Linked DNA regions of Homo sapiens: regions 2, 3, 4, 5, 6 and 7 are each linked to region 1. The links are contacts of gene promoters, found by promoter capture Hi-C in blood cells and fetal thymus (Javierre and others, 2016). All regions are on one chromosome and are shown on one strand. Each heading gives the region's core, a stretch centred on a gene start or on the middle of the fragment in contact. The rest is flanking DNA. Distances are from core to core; before and after follow the strand shown. Region 1 holds the start of NDUFV2 (NADH:ubiquinone oxidoreductase core subunit V2). Region 2 overlaps PPP4R1 (protein phosphatase 4 regulatory subunit 1). Region 3 overlaps PPP4R1 (protein phosphatase 4 regulatory subunit 1). Region 4 has its middle 28 kb from the start of RAB12-AS1. Region 5 has its middle 66 kb from the start of RALBP1. Region 6 overlaps RALBP1 (ralA binding protein 1). Region 7 holds the start of RALBP1 (ralA binding protein 1).

The links. Contacts are between HindIII fragments. The CHiCAGO score rates a contact against its expected background, and 5 or more counts as called.
Region 2: a fragment that was not itself captured here is called in contact with the fragment with the promoter of NDUFV2 in region 1 in 1 of 17 cell types (erythroblasts); the score reaches 7.1 in erythroblasts.
Region 3: a fragment that was not itself captured here is called in contact with the fragment with the promoter of NDUFV2 in region 1 in 1 of 17 cell types (M0 macrophages); the score reaches 5.3 in M0 macrophages.
Region 4: a contact is called between a fragment that was not itself captured here and the fragment with the promoter of NDUFV2 in region 1, in 1 of 17 cell types (naive B cells). The highest score is 5.8, in naive B cells.
Region 5: a fragment that was not itself captured here is called in contact with the fragment with the promoter of NDUFV2 in region 1 in 1 of 17 cell types (M2 macrophages); the score reaches 5.6 in M2 macrophages.
Region 6: a contact is called between a fragment that was not itself captured here and the fragment with the promoter of NDUFV2 in region 1, in 6 of 17 cell types (M2 macrophages, erythroblasts, naive CD8 T cells and 3 more). The highest score is 7.1, in M2 macrophages.
Region 7: a contact is called between a fragment that was not itself captured here and the fragment with the promoter of NDUFV2 in region 1, in 11 of 17 cell types (megakaryocytes, erythroblasts, fetal thymus and 8 more). The highest score is 11.7, in megakaryocytes.

The regions. Positions count from the first base shown.
Region 1 is chr18:9,101,361-9,104,038 of GRCh38, reverse strand. NDUFV2 (NADH:ubiquinone oxidoreductase core subunit V2) reads right to left here and starts at 1,340. Exons shown (of 8, transcript NM_021074.5): 1 at 1,242-1,340. The coding sequence starts at 1,295. RefSeq lists an enhancer at 271-980 and a silencer at 1,253-1,612. The HindIII fragment of the contact is 6,653 bases long and covers 1-2,678 here.
Region 2 is chr18:9,606,664-9,609,341 of GRCh38, reverse strand. The region is part of intron 2 of PPP4R1 (protein phosphatase 4 regulatory subunit 1); the gene reads left to right. Among named protein-coding and RNA genes, the nearest start is that of PPP4R1, 6.6 kb to the left of the region's middle. The HindIII fragment of the contact is 2,824 bases long and covers 1-2,678 here.
Region 3 is chr18:9,575,579-9,578,256 of GRCh38, reverse strand. PPP4R1 (protein phosphatase 4 regulatory subunit 1) reads left to right here. Exons shown (of 20, transcript NM_001042388.3): 10 at 1,066-1,193. Among named protein-coding and RNA genes, the nearest start is that of PPP4R1, 38 kb to the left of the region's middle. The HindIII fragment of the contact is 828 bases long and covers 946-1,773 here.
Region 4 is chr18:8,663,346-8,666,023 of GRCh38, reverse strand. No RefSeq gene overlaps it. Among named protein-coding and RNA genes, the nearest start is that of RAB12-AS1, 28 kb to the right of the region's middle. The HindIII fragment of the contact is 6,278 bases long and covers 1-2,678 here.
Region 5 is chr18:9,539,899-9,542,576 of GRCh38, reverse strand. No RefSeq gene overlaps it. Among named protein-coding and RNA genes, the nearest start is that of RALBP1, 66 kb to the right of the region's middle. The HindIII fragment of the contact is 6,194 bases long and covers 1-2,678 here.
Region 6 is chr18:9,492,010-9,494,687 of GRCh38, reverse strand. The region is part of intron 1 of RALBP1 (ralA binding protein 1); the gene reads right to left. Among named protein-coding and RNA genes, the nearest start is that of RALBP1, 18 kb to the right of the region's middle. The HindIII fragment of the contact is 961 bases long and covers 896-1,856 here.
Region 7 is chr18:9,474,910-9,477,587 of GRCh38, reverse strand. It overlaps RALBP1 (ralA binding protein 1), which reads right to left and starts at 2,075. Exons shown (of 10, transcript NM_006788.4): 1 at 1,897-2,075. RefSeq lists enhancers at 1,445-1,504, 1,243-2,111 and a silencer at 1,735-2,144. The HindIII fragment of the contact is 672 bases long and covers 1,036-1,707 here.

The DNA.
Region 1 (2,678 bases), core at 91-2,590:
TTTACATTGTCTCAACCTTAAAGTTCCTCTTACATGAGACTATCAATTCCAAAAGAACGGGAACTGTCTAAATCTTTTCCTTATCTGTAATATGAGGAAAAAGTAATACCAGCCTCAAAAATGAGATGTGGAATGTAGATATTTAACTCGGTGCTTGGCATACAGAAAACAGTTATCAAATGACTATCATTATTATCCACACTGTTAACTAGAGCTCAGCAGTGCATGACGTACAGTAAGACTTCAAATGTTTATTGAAAGACTGAACTCTGCAAAAAGGAATATTCCCATTTTACAACTGAAGAAACTGAGGAAGATTAACAGCACAAAGTCATAGAGCCACAAAAGGCAGTTAAGCTAACATCCAAACTCGAGTCTAACTCTAAAGCCCTGAATTCATTCTCAATGAATATACACTAGCTCCCTCTTGCTGAGAACTGACTTAACCTATTTCACTCTTAGAAAACAAACAAAACTAAGGCTTCTTTCCAGTATTACTTGTGTAACAGGCCCTGTTGTTATAATCGACATTTCTGGAAATCTGCATTTTTAGATTAACGTGAAGGAGTGTTTCAACTTCTCTGCAATTCAATTTCCTTGCCTACCATGAGATGTACTTGGATCTCAAAAAGATCATTTAATCTCTAAAATCCTGTGGTTCTTTAATTGGGTGCTGTTATTTGCGGCGCCGTTCTTTCAGAGTTAGTTTGATACCGTTTATTTAGCCAGCATTTCCGATATGCAAAGCACAACTGCAGTAAATCAAACATTGGCCACCCTTTTCCAGCCCTAATGAAGTTCTCCCTAAGCCTTCACGAAGCAAGCCAGAGCTCTCCAGTATGCTGCAACCTAAAAGCATCGAGGTCACTAGGCTTGAAACGAGAGGTGCCTCCTTCGGAGCGACGGTCTTCGAAACTGATCTGGCCAGAGCAGGCCTAGATTCTGCGCTACAGCAAAACAGCAAAAACAAACAAACATATATATATATATCACCAAGCAGCCCCTCTTTTCTGTCCTCCTCGACCAAACTAGGAGTACACTTCCCAGTATGGCAACCCTCCCTCGGGGCTTCTCACGGTGGGGCTGCAGCGGCCTCCCTAAGAGGGCTAAGGCCGCAGTGTCCTTGCCGCCGCCTGCAGGCCCGTGCAGAGCCCAGGGCTCTCCTGCGCCCAAAACTAAGGGAGACACGGAGAGCAAGAGAAGGGCGGCGGCAGCGCCGGGCTCAGCTTGAGCCTCCTTACCCAGTGGGCGGTGAGGCCAGCCGCCCGGGCCCGGAGCGCCGCGGAGAAGAACATGGCGGGCCACACTGTTCACCTTCCCCAGCCGCGCCAGGCGAGAATCCCGAGCGCGCCCAGGGCGCACAGCGTGCGCGCTCCCGACCCCAGGCCTAGGCGACCCGGACGGCACGCCGCTCCCTTCGCCGAGGGGCGGGGGCTGACGGGAGGGAGCGAGGGCGCGCGGGGGCTGCTGGGGCCCTGTGGGCGGAGACTTCCCGGGGGAGGGGCGGGGACCAGTCCGTGCTCGGAAAGGGAGGTGTCCTACGGGCCGCTGCAGGGGTCCCGGCCTTGAAAAGAAGCGTCCCGGAGCTGCACCTTGGGCTCCTGGGTAACGAAGCGCCCGCCTGGATTTATAGGGGTGAGCTTCCCTCATGGAGAGCCTTGTGAGGATTAGCCACCTCCTCTTATATTGCTGTTAGTTAAAAATAAAGTCGGGTTGCAACCCACTATAAATCTTATTCTACATGTTACGAATTCAAGACACAGAGGGCTGCTATCCAGTGTGCTAGCCATAGACACCAAATGTCTTGGTTCCCAATCTTTTGCATTAGAGATATGTGCGACATATTTAGGGGTTAAATGGTATGATGTCTGGAATTTGCTTGAGAATAGTGGGGAGCGGGAGGTGAAAAATAAAGCAAGTTGGCCGTTAAGTAAGGCCATAGAAGCTGCATGGTCGTTCTTATTTACTATTCTCGGTACTTTTGTACATATTAGATATTTTCCATAATAAAGCTGAAAAAAAAACCCACTTCCTTCTTCATGTTTGTTTGGTTATCTCTGGAAATTCCAACAAGTATTTATTCAGTAACAGCTCTAATGTGCACAGCACTATTTCCTGGTGTGGACTTCCTCTTGATTTTTTACGTCACTGCCTTCTTTTCTGGAGTGTCACGTCCTGTACCCACCCCCTTCCTTTTGCCCATTTTCTTTGCTATAATAAACTTGTGAATAATTTCTAGAACATTCACAGCAGCACAGGGATTTTAAAAATTTATCCCTCATTAGTTTAAAAACTCAGAAATATTCCATTGCAACCCCTATGAATCATATTTCGCAAATCACAGAATTCAAGACACAGAGGACTGCTGCCCAGTGAGCTAGAAATAGATACCAAATGCCTTGGTTCCCACTCCTTTGCCTTATATTTTATGTTAGTTTGCCTCTCCTAAATTAGCTTCAGTATTTCCCTTTAAAAGGAAAAGACAGTCTGGCCCTTAATGTAAATGTATTTTGTTATAAAGTTACCTAAATACTTATACACCTGGCCGGGCGCGTGGCTCACGCCTGTAATCCCAGCACTTTGGGAGGCTGAGGTGGGCAGATCACGAGGTCAGGAGATCGAGACCATCCTGGCTAATACGGTGAAACCCCGTCTCTACTGAAAATACAAGACATTAG
Region 2 (2,678 bases), core at 103-2,602, 510 kb before region 1:
GCCAGGGAATCATTCAGAAACCTTTGGAAGGTGCCCTTGAACGTGAATCATATTTAGGAGTATTGTTAAATAGGGATTTGGGAGGGTGAGTCGTGAGACCTGGTAGCCTGTTTTGACTGCTGCCAACAAGCCTGGATGGAGAGATCTTTATTTAGAGATAATATCATTGATATCTTAGAAAAGAGTGCTTTTAAAATGGTTTCAGTGGTACCCACATGTGTGTTGGATCAATTAATGATACCTCTGCTAACAACTTCCCACATAAAATTGAAAGAGAGAGAGAGAGAGACAGAGAGAAAAACCCCTTTGTAAATATGCTTGGGCCTGTAGCTACACGATCCACTGCCCTCCCCCCTCCAAAAAATAAAAAACCAAGACACCTAAATGCATACTTTTTGTTTGTTCCTGCCTGTGAAAGATAAATAGACCTCAGGAGGTAAAGTTCAGAAGTCTGCTGCCACATTTGTTTGATCTCTGGTTTATTATTTCTGGTCCTTTTCTCTCAGTCTCCTCAAAACAATGAATGTATGTTTATTAAACTATTGTTACCTTGCTCCTATGTTTGTATTACATCTTTTTTTTATATTTTGGAGTAAAAGAATTTGAAAGTTCCTAAATTTGAATTAGAGTTGTGTTGTTGTTTTTAAATTGGAGCTGAGAATAAACCTAACTTAGTGTTTTGGGCAGAAGTCTGGATGGCACACCTATGGAATTTTGGCTGAGGAGGTATTCCCTCTAATTTCTATAAGAGGGTCTGGAACTTGCTCTGCTTTTAGCACAGATCTTTGAGCTGGTGACATCATCAATGCTGCTTCCTCCACATTCATTTCTTAACTCTCCTAACTTTTAAGTCATCTTAGCTTCTTATCTCCCTAGACTAAGGAGCAAACTTAACTTACTTTCTGGCCTTATTGATATGAATGTGGTTGGTATTTGAGCATCTATCATGCAGTCATTCTGGAAGATACCTCAGTATAGTTTTGTGTAGGGGAAAGAACACTGGGCTTGGTAAGCCTTTAGACCTGAGTTAATATTCTGGCCCTGCCATTTATTCTCTTTATAATCTGAGCAAGTTAACTTTTTCTCAGCTTTCTACCTTTAAAATGTTGATGGATTTTTGGATCATCTGCAGTTTTTTTGCTGTTACAAATAAAGCTGCTATGAACATTCACACACAAGTCTGTGTGAATATATATGTTCTTTCTCTTGGGTATACATCTAGAAGTAGAATGGCTGTTTAACTTTTTAAGAAACTGCCAGCCCGGTGCGGTGGCTTATGCCTGTAATCCCAGCACTTTGGGAGAACGAGGCGGGTGGATCACCCGAGATCAGGAGTTCAAGACCAGCCTGGCCAACATGGTGAAACCCCGTCTCTATTAAAAATACAAAGAATTAGCTGGGCGTGGTGGTGCATGCCTGTAATCCTAGCTACTCGGGAGGCTGAGGCAGGAGAATCACTTGAACCTGGGAGGCAGAGGTTGCAGTGAGCCGAGATTGCATCATTGCACTCCAGCCTGGGCAACGAGCGAAACTCCATCCAAAAAAAAAAAAAAAAAAAGAAAGAAAGAAAAACTGCCAAACTGTTTTCCAAAGTGGTTATATCATTTTCCATTCCCACCAAAAGTGTATGAGAGTTCCAGGTCCTCATCATCATTGTCAACACTTAGTGTGAGCAGTCTTAATTTTAGCCACTCTTATTAAATGTATAATAGTATTAATTTGTGGCTTGAATTTGCATTAATGGCTAATTATGTTACTCTTTTTATGTGCTCATTTGCCATCTAACTTATCTCCTTTGGTGAAGTGCCTTTTCACATCTTTTGCTCATCTTTTCATTGGGACATTTTCTTATTAAATTTTGAGAGTTCGTTATATATTACAGATACTTAAGACATATACAAAGGCAGATGGACCATCATGTCTCTACTACTCGGTTTTGACTTTCATTTATCCATGTTTCTGTTTTTGTTTTTTTTTTTTTGAGACAGGGTCTGGCTCTGTTGCCCAGGCTGGAGTGTAATGGCACTATCTTGGCTCACTGCAACGTCTGCTTCCCGGACTCAAGTAATCCTCCCACCTCAGCTTACCAAGTAGCTGGGACCACAGGCCTGCACCACCACGCCTGGCTAATTTTTTTGTATTTTTGGTAGAGATGGGGTTTTGCCATGTTGTCTAGGCTGGCCTTGAGCTCCTGAGCTCAAGCAATCCACCTGTCTTGGCCTCCCAAAGTGCTGGAATTACAGGTGTGAGCCACTGCACCCAGCCTGATGTAGATCACTTTTATATTTAAATCTATGAAATTCATTTTTGATAGAAATAACTCATTTATTCAATACTTCATTTATTTAAGATTGGTGGCAATTTGGACCTGAGTTAGTTCAAATTTTGTATTTGGATTACCTGTGGGAAAAAAGGTTACTACCAAAGTAATTGCGTTAAGAGTGCAAAGAAAATTTTTACTCACTGAAGGGAACAAATATCTATAATATTTGGGAGATCCACAAGTGTATGTCAGAGCAAGTGCTTTGTTATACTACCTTTCTGTTAAATACTGTTTGTATACATAATCTTGGTAACTAACTTGAAACTAGATAAACATGCCACTACTGTATTATATAAATAGAAATACATTATACATATGGTGTATATATATAAATATAAATACATATATGAATATA
Region 3 (2,678 bases), core at 110-2,609, 470 kb before region 1:
TCAAAAGGAAAAGGAATGCTAAACTTCAGGGAAATTGGTGTGTGGCAAAGTCAAGGTTTTAGTAACATACCAGTTTCCCATTGTTGTTGCCTTTGTCCGATTGTGTCCATCCTTCCATAAAACCTCTCATTTTCAAATGTTTTAAAAATTCCTGATTTTAAAAATAATACAGAAATACGACATGAAGTGGAATTCTATAACTTCTTTATCACCCCTCCTACATGAGACAGTCATCAAGAACAATAGTATATGCTTCAAGATCTTTGTGACATACTTTAAGTTAACATTATGTTTCTGGTACGTCTGTCTTGCTTCCTTCTAGTGAACAAATTAAAGTCTTTCCTACCTGAAAACATTAAATGTATTTATCACATTTTGTTGGCTTTATTGATTTTTATGTTCTTTGTGGCACTCTTGGTTTTCCTTATTCTTTTTGTTCTTGAGAACACAGCAGGACCTTCTTTAGTTTTGTTCTATGCAAATGTTTCATAGTATCTCATACTTAGATTATCATGGTTCAAACATTCAAGAGAGGATAAAAACAATTGAAAGTAAAAAAGAGCAAATAGGGGTTTGTTTGGGGTTTTTTTTTTAGACAGTCTTGCTCTGTCACCCAGGCTGGAGTACAGTGGTGTGATCACGGCTCACTACAGACTTAGCCTCATGGGTTCACGCGCTTCTTCCACCTCAGGCCCTGCCGAGTAGCTGGGACCACAGGCATGCGCCACCACGCCCTGCTAACTTTGGTATTTTTTGTAGAGACTGGATTTCGCCATGTTGCCCAGGCTGGTCTCAAACTGCTGGACTCAAGCGATCTGCCCAGCTCAGCCTCCCAGAGTGCTGGGATTACAGGCATGAGCCACTGCGCCCAGCCAGAGAAAATAGCTTGTAAGAATTTTTCAGTCCTAGCTAAAGTTCTGAATCTGGGCTTCCTTTAGAAAAGCTTCATTATTATCCTAAACATACTTCGGCATTTGAAAGTAGATTATTAAATATACATAATGTGTGCGTATATAATTCTTTTTCAAAATGATTCCTTTATTATTGTCCTTTTTATCTTCCTAGGTTCGCCAAGCAGCTTTTCAGTCTCTGGGACCTTTCATATCTACTTTTGCTAATCCATCTAGCTCAGGCCAGTATTTTAAAGAAGAAAGCAAAAGTTCAGAAGAGATGTCAGTAGAAAACAAAAATAGGTATAATTTTGAAACCATTTTCTAATTTTAAAACCTTGTTTTCTAATTTTACTGCTTTTAAACATTATTTCCACTATTCTGCAACAAATGTTATTTTTTGATAGTTTGCTATTTCTCTTGAATATAAAAATTGGTGAATATTTTTATAGAGCTTTACTTTAAGCGCATTTGTTTGTTAAGTATCTCTTTGGTTGGTTACATATTGAATGAGTAGATGCATGTAACACAATTAGCTAGATGCCTCGCACATAGGAAACTCTAAATGGTAGATTATGACTTTTAAAAAATGTTTATTTAGTACATTATTTAGTCAATCATTCATTGATATCTACAATATACAGGGTAATTGTTACACACTGTGTAGTATTTGGGTTTTTTTAAATTTGTTTTTAAGGAGTAAAACTTAATTTAGGAATATGTTTTATTGTCCTTTTCTGTCAAATAATTTAGTTGCGCATCTTGGATTCTTTGTCAATGGTGATTGTAATCTGTCAGTTAAAGGAGAAAGCCAGTATATTAGCCAGTATATCAGTTTTAAGTATATCAGTCTCATAAGGAAACCAAAGTTTTAAATAAAGCTTAAAGAGTCGGCTGTGATTTTTATTTTTAAATGTTTTTGCATTGAAAATTTTCTATTAAATTTAAATTTTAAAAATTTATTATAATATATATTTAGGGGAAAAACTAATTCAAGCCTAACTTACTAGTATGCGGGAAATGTACACAAACTTTTACAGTTATGCACTTGAAGTAATTTTAGTACAAATATTTGAAACAGTCCCTGCTATAATGCTTGAGTTACCATAGTGTCTTTTCCCTCCCTTGTCATGATGCTAATGGACATTTTCTTCTGTAGGTCTTGATACTGTGCTATTTGCTTTCTTGGTGTTTTGATTTGGCAGTTCTTCTTTCTTCTCTGCTGCCTTGTTTTACCTTTTTGCCCGTTCTCCTACTGTCCTGCTGAATAGCCAAACAAACCTGAGGTACTGTTTTTTGTAAAGGAAGAAAATCACTCAAACCTGTCTTCCTAGCAAGCAAAGTCTGTCAGTTTTTTTGAAAACAGGTGCTGCCAGGACTTTGACAAAAGTGATGATGGTGGGTGGGGAATGTTATCTATTTTTCATTTTTGAAATCAGCATACTTAAAAAATTACCTGTTTATACTGAAGACTGTTACATAACTTCTGTTTTAAAATCTGAAATGGGTCTAGTAAGAAACTATAAATTTGCAGAGAACTGTATAGGACGAGCTGGTAAACTTTCTTCTGTTTCACAACTACTCACTCGGCCTTTGCAGTGTATAAGCAGCCGTAGACATTACATAAATGGACAAGCTTGGCTGTGTTCCAGTAAAACTTCACTGACCTCAACAGTGTGCCTATCAAGGCCATGTTTGCCGCCTACCGGTGTGTAGCATTACTGCAATAGCTATTTAAAGGTAGTTCAATTCCTTGATTCTTCTTCCATTGTAATGAGGTATGTCTTA
Region 4 (2,678 bases), core at 64-2,563, 440 kb after region 1:
TGATCCACCTGCCTCAGCCTCCCAAAGTGCTGGGATTACAGGCGTGAGCCATGGCACCCAGCCAAGTAATATTTCATTGTATGTATAGACCACGTTTTGCTTCTCCGTTTATCTGTTGATGGACATTTGCATTGTTTCTGGGTTTGGCTTTTATGAATAATGCTGCTCTGAACATCCAAGTACAAGTGTGTATGTGATATATGTCTTTGTTTCTATCGAATATATATCCAAGAGAGTAGAAGTGGCTGAGTCATATGGTGAGTCATATGCTGGGTCTTATGGTAATATGTTTAACTTTTTGAAGTGGGGGAGAATAGGATCTGGAGGCAGGAAACCTAAGGCTGATTCACCCTGACTTCCTAGAACTAAATCAAAAGAAAAATCCCAGCTTTCCATGCCCAAGTACCAAAAGGACCAGAGGCTACTCTCTTTGCAAACCCCCACCTTTTCTGCAAGGCAGATGGAAAATTGGAAGTACCTCTAATTGGTTGCTTTCTGCAACCAGACGTTTGCATAGGAAGGTAGCTTTGTAACTTCAGCCTCTGACTGTAGGCCAAGTCTTCATTTGCATAGGAGTGCATCTTTGTAACTTCACTTTAGCTTCTGATTGGTTGCTTTCCGCAACTAATCAGACTGATTGCAGGCCACCACTTCATTTACATGGGGTGAACACCAAGTGGCCAATGGGAAACCTCTAGAGGGTATTTGGACCCAAGAAGATTCTCTATCCGGGGCCCTTGAGCTGCTGCTTGGGCCGCTCCCACGCTATGGAGTATACTTTCATTTTCAGTAAATCTCTGCTTTCGTTGCTTCATTCTTTCCTTGCTTTGCTGTGCATTTTGTCCAATTCTTTGTTCGAAATGCCTAGAAACTGGACAACCTGCAGTCAAGACCCTCCACCAGTAACAGAAGAACTACCGATTTTTTTTCCCAAAGTGGCTGCACCCTTCAATATTCCCACCATCAGTGTAAGAGAGTTCCAATTTCACCACATCCTCACCAACACTTGGTAGTATGTATGTTTCTGATAATAGCCATCCTCTTGGGTATTAAGAAGGCTTTCATTCTGGTTTTGGTTTGCATTTCCCTAATGACTAGCGATGTTGAGCATCTTTCCATGTGCTTTGGCCATTGGTATACCTGCTTTGGATAAATGTCTATTCAAATTATTTGCCCATTTTTAAAATTAGGTTGTGTTTTCATTATTGAATTGTAAGAATTCTTTATATATTCTGGATATAAGTCCTTGTCAGAGACATGATTTGCAAAGATTTTGATACAGACAACATTTTTTGTGCATTGTTTTCCCACTTTCTTGATAGTTTGTAGCACAAAAGTTTTTAATTTTTAATTTTTTATAGAGACAGTGTCTTGCTATGTTGCCCAGGCTGGTTTCGAACTCCTGACGAAAGTTTATCATTTTGATGAAGTCTACTATATCTGTTTTTTCCTTTTGTTGTTTTGTGCAATTGATGCCATATTTAAGAAGACATTACCCAAAGTCATGAAGATTTACTCCTGAGTTTTATTCTAAGAGTTTTAGTTGGACCTATTTTGACCTACTTTATGTGTATTATGTGAGGTTGGGGAACTGACTTTATTCCAGATATCCTATCTTTACCAAAGGCTTGAGTGTCTATTACTGAATGAAAATTGTTTTAGATTTTTGACAAGTGTGCTTGAATTTCAGAGCAGGGACTTGGGCTCAGTATCTTTGAGGTAGGTAGCAAATGATTCCTTTTCACAGTAAAAACAAATAAAAACCTGATCTCTTTATTTGTTGAACAGTTTCTTCTTTTCTGTCTTTAGTTCTCTCTCTTTGTCAAAATACTGAACTTTCCAAATCCTTATCTTTTCTTTAGTTTCCTTTCTTTTTCACTTGCCATTATATTGTAATATTGCAAGCACATTCCTATATTAGAACACACACACACACACACACACACACACACACACACACACACACACACGGCCCCATTTCTCCCACTTCTTCATCTATCCTGTGCTTTCGTTACCGTTCTCTAGGTCAGCCCAGGGTTCTGGTCAGCAAATGAGCCTGATGCCATCACTCTCTCATTCACCCCACATCTCTTTGGGGCAAACCAGAACCCTCACCAGACTGACCTCCAGTTTAGGCTCTGCTGTGTACTGAACATGTAGATCTGAGGAAGCAGCATCCACGTCAGGCACCATGCATAAAAGGGAGGGTTGGATGGGATCGATCACAGATATTGGAAGGATATGATCCCTCTTCCGATCACTCACAGTGGGTCTTTGCTCACCTCAGGTGTGTATTGACCTTACAACAAATTGCACAATGGGTCCCTCCCAACCCGAGGCTACCTTCCTTTCTCTTGGGTGAAAAATTGCAGTTAGAATGAAGTGCAGATCCCTCTCCAAGGCCTGCGAGTCATGTGAGCCACTCACCTCCCTTGGCCACTGTCCTCTGCTTGCTGGGTGCATCTGGCCGGTTTCTGCTCCTGAGCCCTGCTGGGGGCCTGTCCCCAGGTCTGCTTGAGGCTGTCCTCCCCCTAATGTCTTGGCGGGCAGGCCTCAGCCTCGGGAGCGTTCTCTGAGCACCTAGGGAAGTCACAGCCCTCACCTCAGCTTCTTCACTCTTGATCCTGTGGCAACATGTGCATCCCCTCAGGCCCTGCTGCTCCCTTGCACCTCCTGTC
Region 5 (2,678 bases), core at 128-2,627, 440 kb before region 1:
TGTGTGTGTGTGTGTGTGTGTGTGTGTATTTTTTTTTTAAATTTTTTTAGTAGAGACAGGGTTTCTGACCTTAGGTGATCCGCCTGCCTTGGTGTCCCAAAGTCCTGGGATTACAGGTGTGAGACACCACAGCCGGCCAACAGTTTTAGTTTTATCTTATAGAAATTATTTTCGTTAAGAATTCTTTTTCTGGCCGGGCGCAGTGGCTCACGCCTGTAATCCCAGCACTTTGTGAGGCCGAGGCGGGCGGATCACGAGGTCAGGAGATTGAGATCATCCTGGCTAACACGGTGAAACCCCGTCTCTACTAAAAAATACAAAAACAATTAGCCGGGCGTGGTGGCAGTCACCTGTAGTCCCAGCTACGCGGGAGGCTGTGGCAGGAGAATGGCGTGAACCTGGGAGGCGGAGCTTGCAGTGAGCTGAGATCGAGATCGCGCCACTGCACTCCAGCCTGGGGGACAGAGCGAGACTCCGTCTCAAAAAAATAGTTCTTTAATTCTTTTCCTAGAAAACTTGACAAATGATCAATAATCCACTTTCAGTCCATGTGATGTTTTGCAGCATGGCTATGAGTTTAATTTCTACCATGTCTTTCTTTTAGGGCAAATTTTGCTGATTTAGAGTTGACAAGATTACTTGCAGTTTTTAGTAATTTTACCATGATTATTTCACCCCATCTGCTTTTTAGTGTTAATATTACCAATAATTGTTGCTAGTTGGATACAAGACAGCTACTGAGTAGTATTTTCAGTAGTTCCATGGGAAGAGCCACCACCTCGCCAGAGGCTCCTGAGCCGCGTTTGGGTGCGGGCCCACATTGTCCTGCTGTTCCCAATCCCCAGGAGATGCCCGGCCGTGGACAGGAGAGCGCAAGCTGGTCCTCCAGCACCGTGAGGAATTCAGCGTGGACAAGAGGAAGTTCCGCAGGGAACATCCCACAGGCAGATGCTGAGGGGAGGGAGAGGGAGCCAGGAGGGCATCCACAAGGAAAGGGGAGCCCTAGCAAGCTCAGGCTAGAATAGGGGCTTGTCCCACTGGCTGGGCAAAAGGCCAAGGGATAACAGGGGTGGACACTGTAAGACTGCTGGCCCACCTTCCTGGATGGTCATTTACTGAGATTTTCCTGGTTTTTCTGTTGTAGCTTTTAAGTATCTAGTGAAATGTTGTTGGACATTTAGAAAGTTTCCTTTTTTTTTTTTTTTTTTGAGATGGAGTCTCACTCTGTTGCCCAGGTGGGAGTGCAGAGGCACAATCTCGGCTCACTGCAACCTCTGCCTCCCGGGTTCAATCAATTCTCCTGCCTCAGCCTCCTGAGTAGCTAGGATTAGAGGTGCACGGTGCCGCGCCTGGCTAATTAATTTTTGTATTTTCAGTAGAGACAGGGTTTCACCATGTTGGCCAGGTTGGTCTCGATCTCTGGACCTCGTGATCCACCCGCCTCAGCCTCCCATAAGTGCTGGGATTACAGGCATGAGCCACCGCACCCGGCCTGGTGCCTGTTTTCCAAAAGTTAACATGTGGCTAAGTCACCTGGGGACTTGGTTCAAATGCAGATTCAGATTCCATAGGTCTGGGGTGGGGCCAAGAGACCTGGCCTTCCTGAGACTGAAGCCATAATGCAGTCTGTTGGTGTAGGATTTTATCTTTGCCACGTTAAACTCTTTGCATAATTTTGATATCTTAACCCACAATGATCAGAGATTTTAAACATTTAATATTTATATTTTACTTCCTTGGCTGCAAATCAGCACTTCCAAACTCTACATGTCAAAGCCCACATGACCACTAGTGGTCGTCATGGCTTGTGGTGGTCACGGCTTGTGGGGGTCACAGCTTGTGGCTGTAGTGGCTGCTGCGGCATCACTGCCACCCTGGGGGCAGCCAGGGTCAGTCATGGACAGGGCACAGCTGCCCCAGACCCATCCGCTTGGCTCAGTCTTTTACTAGCAAGCCGTGTCCCTTTGCGAGTGGTAGGTGGCCTGCAGGGATCAGTAGGAGGCTGTACGCTTGATTGGTGAATCTCCCCACAATTTTAATTTGAGGCAAAGAGCCAAACCTTGTCAATGCTGAGTCCTTCCTTCCCCTCCCCAGCTGGACCTACTCGATCCCTTCAGTTTCTTGGATTCTGCCCGACATTCACCTGCTTTGGGTGTTCTGTTTCCCTCAAATAACAAGGACTCCTTATCTGTGCAGCACTCAAGATCACAGTCACCTTTCACAGCGTGGACAGAGTTCACGAGTCAAAATACAGGACACTCAATTCAACTGCAGTTGCGTGGGACATACTTACAGTTACACTAAGAAAACATCCATCGTTGATCTGAAATTCTGATGTAAGGGAGAGTCCTGTACCTTCCATGGCCTCCCTACAGCAAGGTCAGCCTAAGTGGGCAGGTGTGAGCCTGCCGAGCTCTCCACCATGGCTCCCTCTTCAGGGAGTTCCTTCCTGGCCTCGCCAGCCTGTGGTGCAGTATGCGTGAGGCAGAACTCAACCCTCCTCATTCGAGAGAACTTCCCATTCCTTCTCTCCGACTGCTCTCTGTCATTGGAACAGTCTTAACAGTAGTGAGATGATATGAGGGTTTTTATCCCCACATGAGAAACTCAAGAACTGCTGGTGTGACCCTTTTCAGAAGGCTAGAGCTGCCCTTCCAAAGGGGAGCTTCTTGCTCTAA
Region 6 (2,678 bases), core at 127-2,626, 390 kb before region 1:
CTGCTCTGCCTATGGAGTAGCGATTCATTTCTTTCTTTACTTTCTTAATAAACTAATGCTTTCACTTTAAGGACTCTCCTCAAATTCCTTCTTGGGTGAGGTCTAAAAACCCTATCCTGGGTTCTGATCAGGACATCTTTCCAGTAACACTTCTGATGGGACCAGCTATAAATCATGGTTCCCATGACCCCTGCCTTGGGTTTGATTAATTTCCTAGAGCAGCTCACAGAACCTAGGAATACACTTAGGTTTACACTTATGTTCAGTTTATTATAAAGGATACACAAAGGGTATAGATGAAGAGATGCACAGGGCAAGGCATGTAGGAAGGAGTGCAGAGCTTCCGTGCCCTCTCTGGCTACACTAACCTCCAGGAACTTCTACCTGTTCTGCAATCAAAAAGCTCTCGGAACCCCATCTTCTTAAATTTTTGATGGAGACTTCATTGGATAGGCATGTTGAAGTATGGACAAACATGCAGAAATGCGACTGAACAAAAAGGGTATAATCTAATACTAATAGATTGAGTGGGGAAACCCAGTAAGGCCTGTTTTGTTCAGATTCTTCTTGGCCTCTCTGTGCAGCATTGCTTCCTCCATGGTATGGGACAAGATCCATTTTGAAATGGGGGTCTTATGACCTAAAATCAGACAATGTAAGTCAGAGAATTCCTTTATGGCCAGCTTGTGGACAGAAAGCCGGGGGAAGATTAGAGCATGTTTTTAGTTTCTATGGCCTGCCTTGGGGAGAAAAATGAGCAAGTGAACAAAGACCAGGAGAAGGCCAGAGAGAGAGAGATCTGTCTTCTGAGGCCTACTTCTGAGATCTAAAGTACTCCAACATTATAACAAAAGACTGTCTTTCACCTTTATTGCTCAGAAGCTGTTTCAAAGCTTCTTCAGGAACCAAAGACAAAAGGCAAAATACTTTAACAAAAGATATGCTTATTGTTTAAGTCACTTAAGAAATAACAGGGGCTATGGGAGTTATGAGCCAGGAATTCTGGATGAAAACATATATGGACAGATAGATAAACAGATAGATCTATATATCTCATATCACACAGATCAAGCTGCAAAATCTATAGGATATACAATTTAGTTTCTTTAGTTAATGCTCTGGAAAAAAAAAAGAGAGGGAGGGTGAACATAAAAATTAAGAGTCTTAAGACTGAAAGATTGAAAAGACAAGCCACATTGAAATAAAATACTTATAGAAAATATATCCAATAAAGTACTATTACCCAAAAATATACACAGAACTCTTTAGGCCAGGTGCGGTGGCTCATGCCTGTAATCCCAGCACTTTGGGAGGCCAAGGCAGGCGGATCACCTGAAGTCAGGAGTTCGAGACCAGCCTGGCCAACATGAAAATCCCGTCTCTACTAAAAACACAAAAATTAGCCGAGAATGGTGGCAGGCGCCTGTAATCCCAGCTAATCGGGAGGCTGAGGCAGGAGAATCGCTTGAACCTGGGAGGCAGAGGTTGCAGTGAGCCAAGATAGTGCCATTGCACTCCAGCCTGGGGGAATTTTGTCTCAAAAAAAAAAAAAAAAAAAAAAAACTCTTTAAACTAAACAGTAAGAAAACAATTCATTTTGTTTAAATGGGCAAAAGACCTGAACAGGCACCTCACCAAAGATATGTAAATGGAAAATAAGCACATGAGAAGATGCTCAGCATGCTATATCATTGGAGAACTACCAATTAAAACAATGTGATACTACCACATACCATTATTATGGCAAAACCCAAAATGCTACCACCACCAAATGCTGGCAAGGATATAGAGCAACAGGAACTTTTATCCATGGCTGATAGGAATGCAATATGGCACAGCCACTTTGGAAGAAAGCTTGGCAGTTTCTTACAAAACTAAACATACTCTTCCTATATGATCCATCAATCGCACTCCTTGGTATTTACCCAAATGAATTGAGAACTTATGTACATGCAAAAACCGGCACATAGATGTTTATAGCAGGTATATTATAAATCCCCCCAAAAAAGGCAGCAATGGATAAACTGTGGTATATCCAGATAATGGAATATTATTTAGTGCTAAAAAGAGATGAGCTATCAAGTCATGAAAAGATACAGAGGAAATGTAAATGCATATTACTAAGTAAAAGAAGTTGAGCACAGTGGCTGACAACTGCGATCCCAGCACTTTTGGAGACCAAGGTGGGCGGACTGCTTAAGCACAGCAGTCAGAGAACAGCCTGGGCAACATGGCAAAACCTCATCTCTACCCAAAAAAAAAAAAGAAAAAATTAGCTGGGTGTGGTGGTGCACACCTGTAGTCCCAGCTACTTGGGAGGCTGAGATGGGAGGATCACCTGAGCCTAGCAGGTAGAGGCTCAGCAGTGAGCTGAGATCCCAGCGCTTCACCCCAACCTGCACGACAAAGCAAGACCTTGTCTCAAAAAAAAAGACGTTAATTAAAAAGGCCATATGACATTCTGCAAAAAGCAAAACTATAGAGACAGTAGAAGGATTAGTAGTAGCCAGGGTTTAGGGAGGAGGAAGAAATGAATAGGTGGAACACAGAGGATTGTTGGGGCAGTGAAGCTATTCTGTATTGGTACTTTAGTGGTGGACACATGTTCATTATTCATTTGTCTAAACACACGGAATGTACAGCATACCAGGAGCGAACTCTAACACAAACGCAGCTTT
Region 7 (2,678 bases), core at 122-2,621, 370 kb before region 1:
TTCACCTGGTCACAGTACTTTCTACATAGTAATTCCTGTATTCTAAATAATCTGCATTTTTCCTTGTACCCTCTTATACAAACTAACATAAGTTTCTATCAGGGATCTTTCAAAACAGAAACAATATTCTTTTGGGTTACATGCTGGGCCCGATCTCTTCTTGCCAAGCAAACAACTATGCAAATATAACTGTACAAATTAAAGTTATTATGCACTTTCTGATACCACTTTCCTATTCTAAATTAGGGGAGAAATAGTCTGGATAAGATCCATAATTAGAAACAATATCCTGAAGAGAAAGCAAACTAAGTTGTATTACATTGTTTCGAGATACCTTGTTTAAAGAGTCACTTCTCAAAAGCTACTACTGTTGGCAGGGCGCGGTGGCACACGCCTGTAATCCCAGCGCTTTGGGAGGCCTAGGCGGGCAGATCACCTGAGGTCGGGAGTTCAAGACCAGCCTGACCAACATGGAGAAAATGTCTCTACTAAAAATATAAAATTAGCCGGGCGTGATGGCGCATGCCTGTAATCCCCTCAGGAGGCTGAGGCAGCAGAATCGTTTGAACCCAGGAGGCAGAGGCTGTGGTGAGCTGAGATCATGCCATTGCACTCCAACCTGGGCAACAAGAGCGAAACTCTGTCTCAAAAAATAAAAAACTAAAAAAAAAAAAAAAAAGCTACTGTTAACTAACCTACCCCACTTGGATCTACCAGATACTTTGAATGAGAGGTGGAAACCACTCTACTGACCTCCTTCCTACCCCTACTACCGCCACTCCAGCTTACAGTAATTATTTTCACAAAGACAGAAAGGAGTTATCAAATGACCACAATAACTCTAAAAACAGAAAGTGAGGTGATCTTTCTTATTCACAGTCCCACTTATTCATTTAGAAATGCTGAGCACCAAAACAAAACCTTATCACAAGTTCAGTATTTCGTTAATAACTGCCAAGTATAATGGAATACTCCCCAAAGTACTGCAGCATTAGAACATGACCACTCCACTAAATTAAAAATTCAGCGAAAGCTTTTCTAACAAGGCTGGATGGAGCACTAACTCAACGGCCAAACGGCTGCACTTCCTGTATATGCACGTTCAAAACACCTCGAATTAACATGCTAGGGACCTTGAAGAATTGTACTAGGCCTTGCTCAAGAGGAAGGCTTTGTAATACTGAATCCCAAAACTTGAAACAGCAGAATTACTTCAGGGAAGACGGAGGTGTTAAATATTCTGTAAAACCTGTTTCACTCTCACAACGATCAGTTTTAAAAAAAAGAGGGAGAACACTGACCTCATTAAGAGCATTCTGACAACACACATAGTTGAACATGAGTTGTGAAAAGAATTTTCAACTTCAGATCTGTCTGTCCATTCCCACTGAAACCTGAAGGAAGGATCGCAGCACCCAAAGGCGCCCACTGCTCAGTGCCAGCGGTGGGCGACACCAGGAGCCTGTCCTGGTCCCCTGGGTAAGCCCTGGAGCCTGGCCACTATGCCGGGCACGATCCACCAACCGTGAGGGCTGGGTCCCCTAGCCTCTGTCCAGGCGCCCCCCAAGAGCTTCCCCGAGGCCTGGGGACTCCTAACTCTCCACCCCCGGCCCCCGAGAGCACCACAAACGAGGACGCCACGAAGGGAGGCCCGTCGGCCAGTGGGAGGGACGCACGGCCAAGGGGGGCGAAAACTGGGGCGAAGCTTTCCGGGGAGGAACCCACGCCAGGGGCAGCCACGCCCCCCACCCCCAACTTCAAACCCGAGCGCTGCGAGCACCGAGCCCCACACGCTGCCTGACAGACGCGGGCGCGAGGCCGGCGCGGGAGAGGGTTCCTCGGGCACTCCAGGGGTATCGCCGCGACCCTAGCACGCGACCGCTCCCTGCGACTGACCTGTGCCTGCCGCCGCGCGACCGTCCGCCCCGCCGCAGCCTCCGCCTCCTCGCGCTCACGCTGCCGCCGCAGCCACCGGAGCCGCCTCCTGCGCTGCGCCCCAGGCCGGCCTCGGGCGCCCCATTCCCACCCCGCCCAGCCTCTGCCTGTTTACAATGATTGGGACGGAACGGGACGAGGCGGTCCAGCGCGCACGCGCATTCCCTCCTCCCGCCGCAGCCGGCTTCCCGGATCCTCCTCTCCGCTCAGACGGCTGAAGCCGTCAAGGGCAGGCGACCTGGGCTCTCGCGCGGGGCGCGCTGGGAGGCGTAGTTCCCAAGGCCCCGGCGTCCAGCCAGCCCGAAGGCCTCTCGCCAAGGAAGCAAACTACAACACCCAGGAGGCACCGCGCCCCCTTCGTCCCCAGGCTCGCTGAGGAGACTGAAGAAGAGCGCGAGAGAACGCGCCGAGGGCCAGTGCTCTGCAGGCGCCTGCGCAGTCGGTGGCCTTGCGGGTTTCGGGGACGGACGGCTTACCCCGGTGTGGTGCTGGCGAAGGTGGCTCGCGGGCATCTCCTGCAACGGCCTTGAGGATGGAAAGGGCTTTCCTCTCCACGCTCTGGCCAGCCTGCGCCTCAGCTCCCGAAGTTGAGAGCTTTCCTTGCGCCAGCGTGCTTTAGTCGTTCCAACCAGTTAAACCAGACTGGGGGCCGCCCGGCTGGCCGCTGGGTGGGGCGGCTGCCCCGCCTTCGACTGGGTGTGGGATTGGAGGAAAGAGCGCCGTGGGCCTGTAGGGATAGGCGG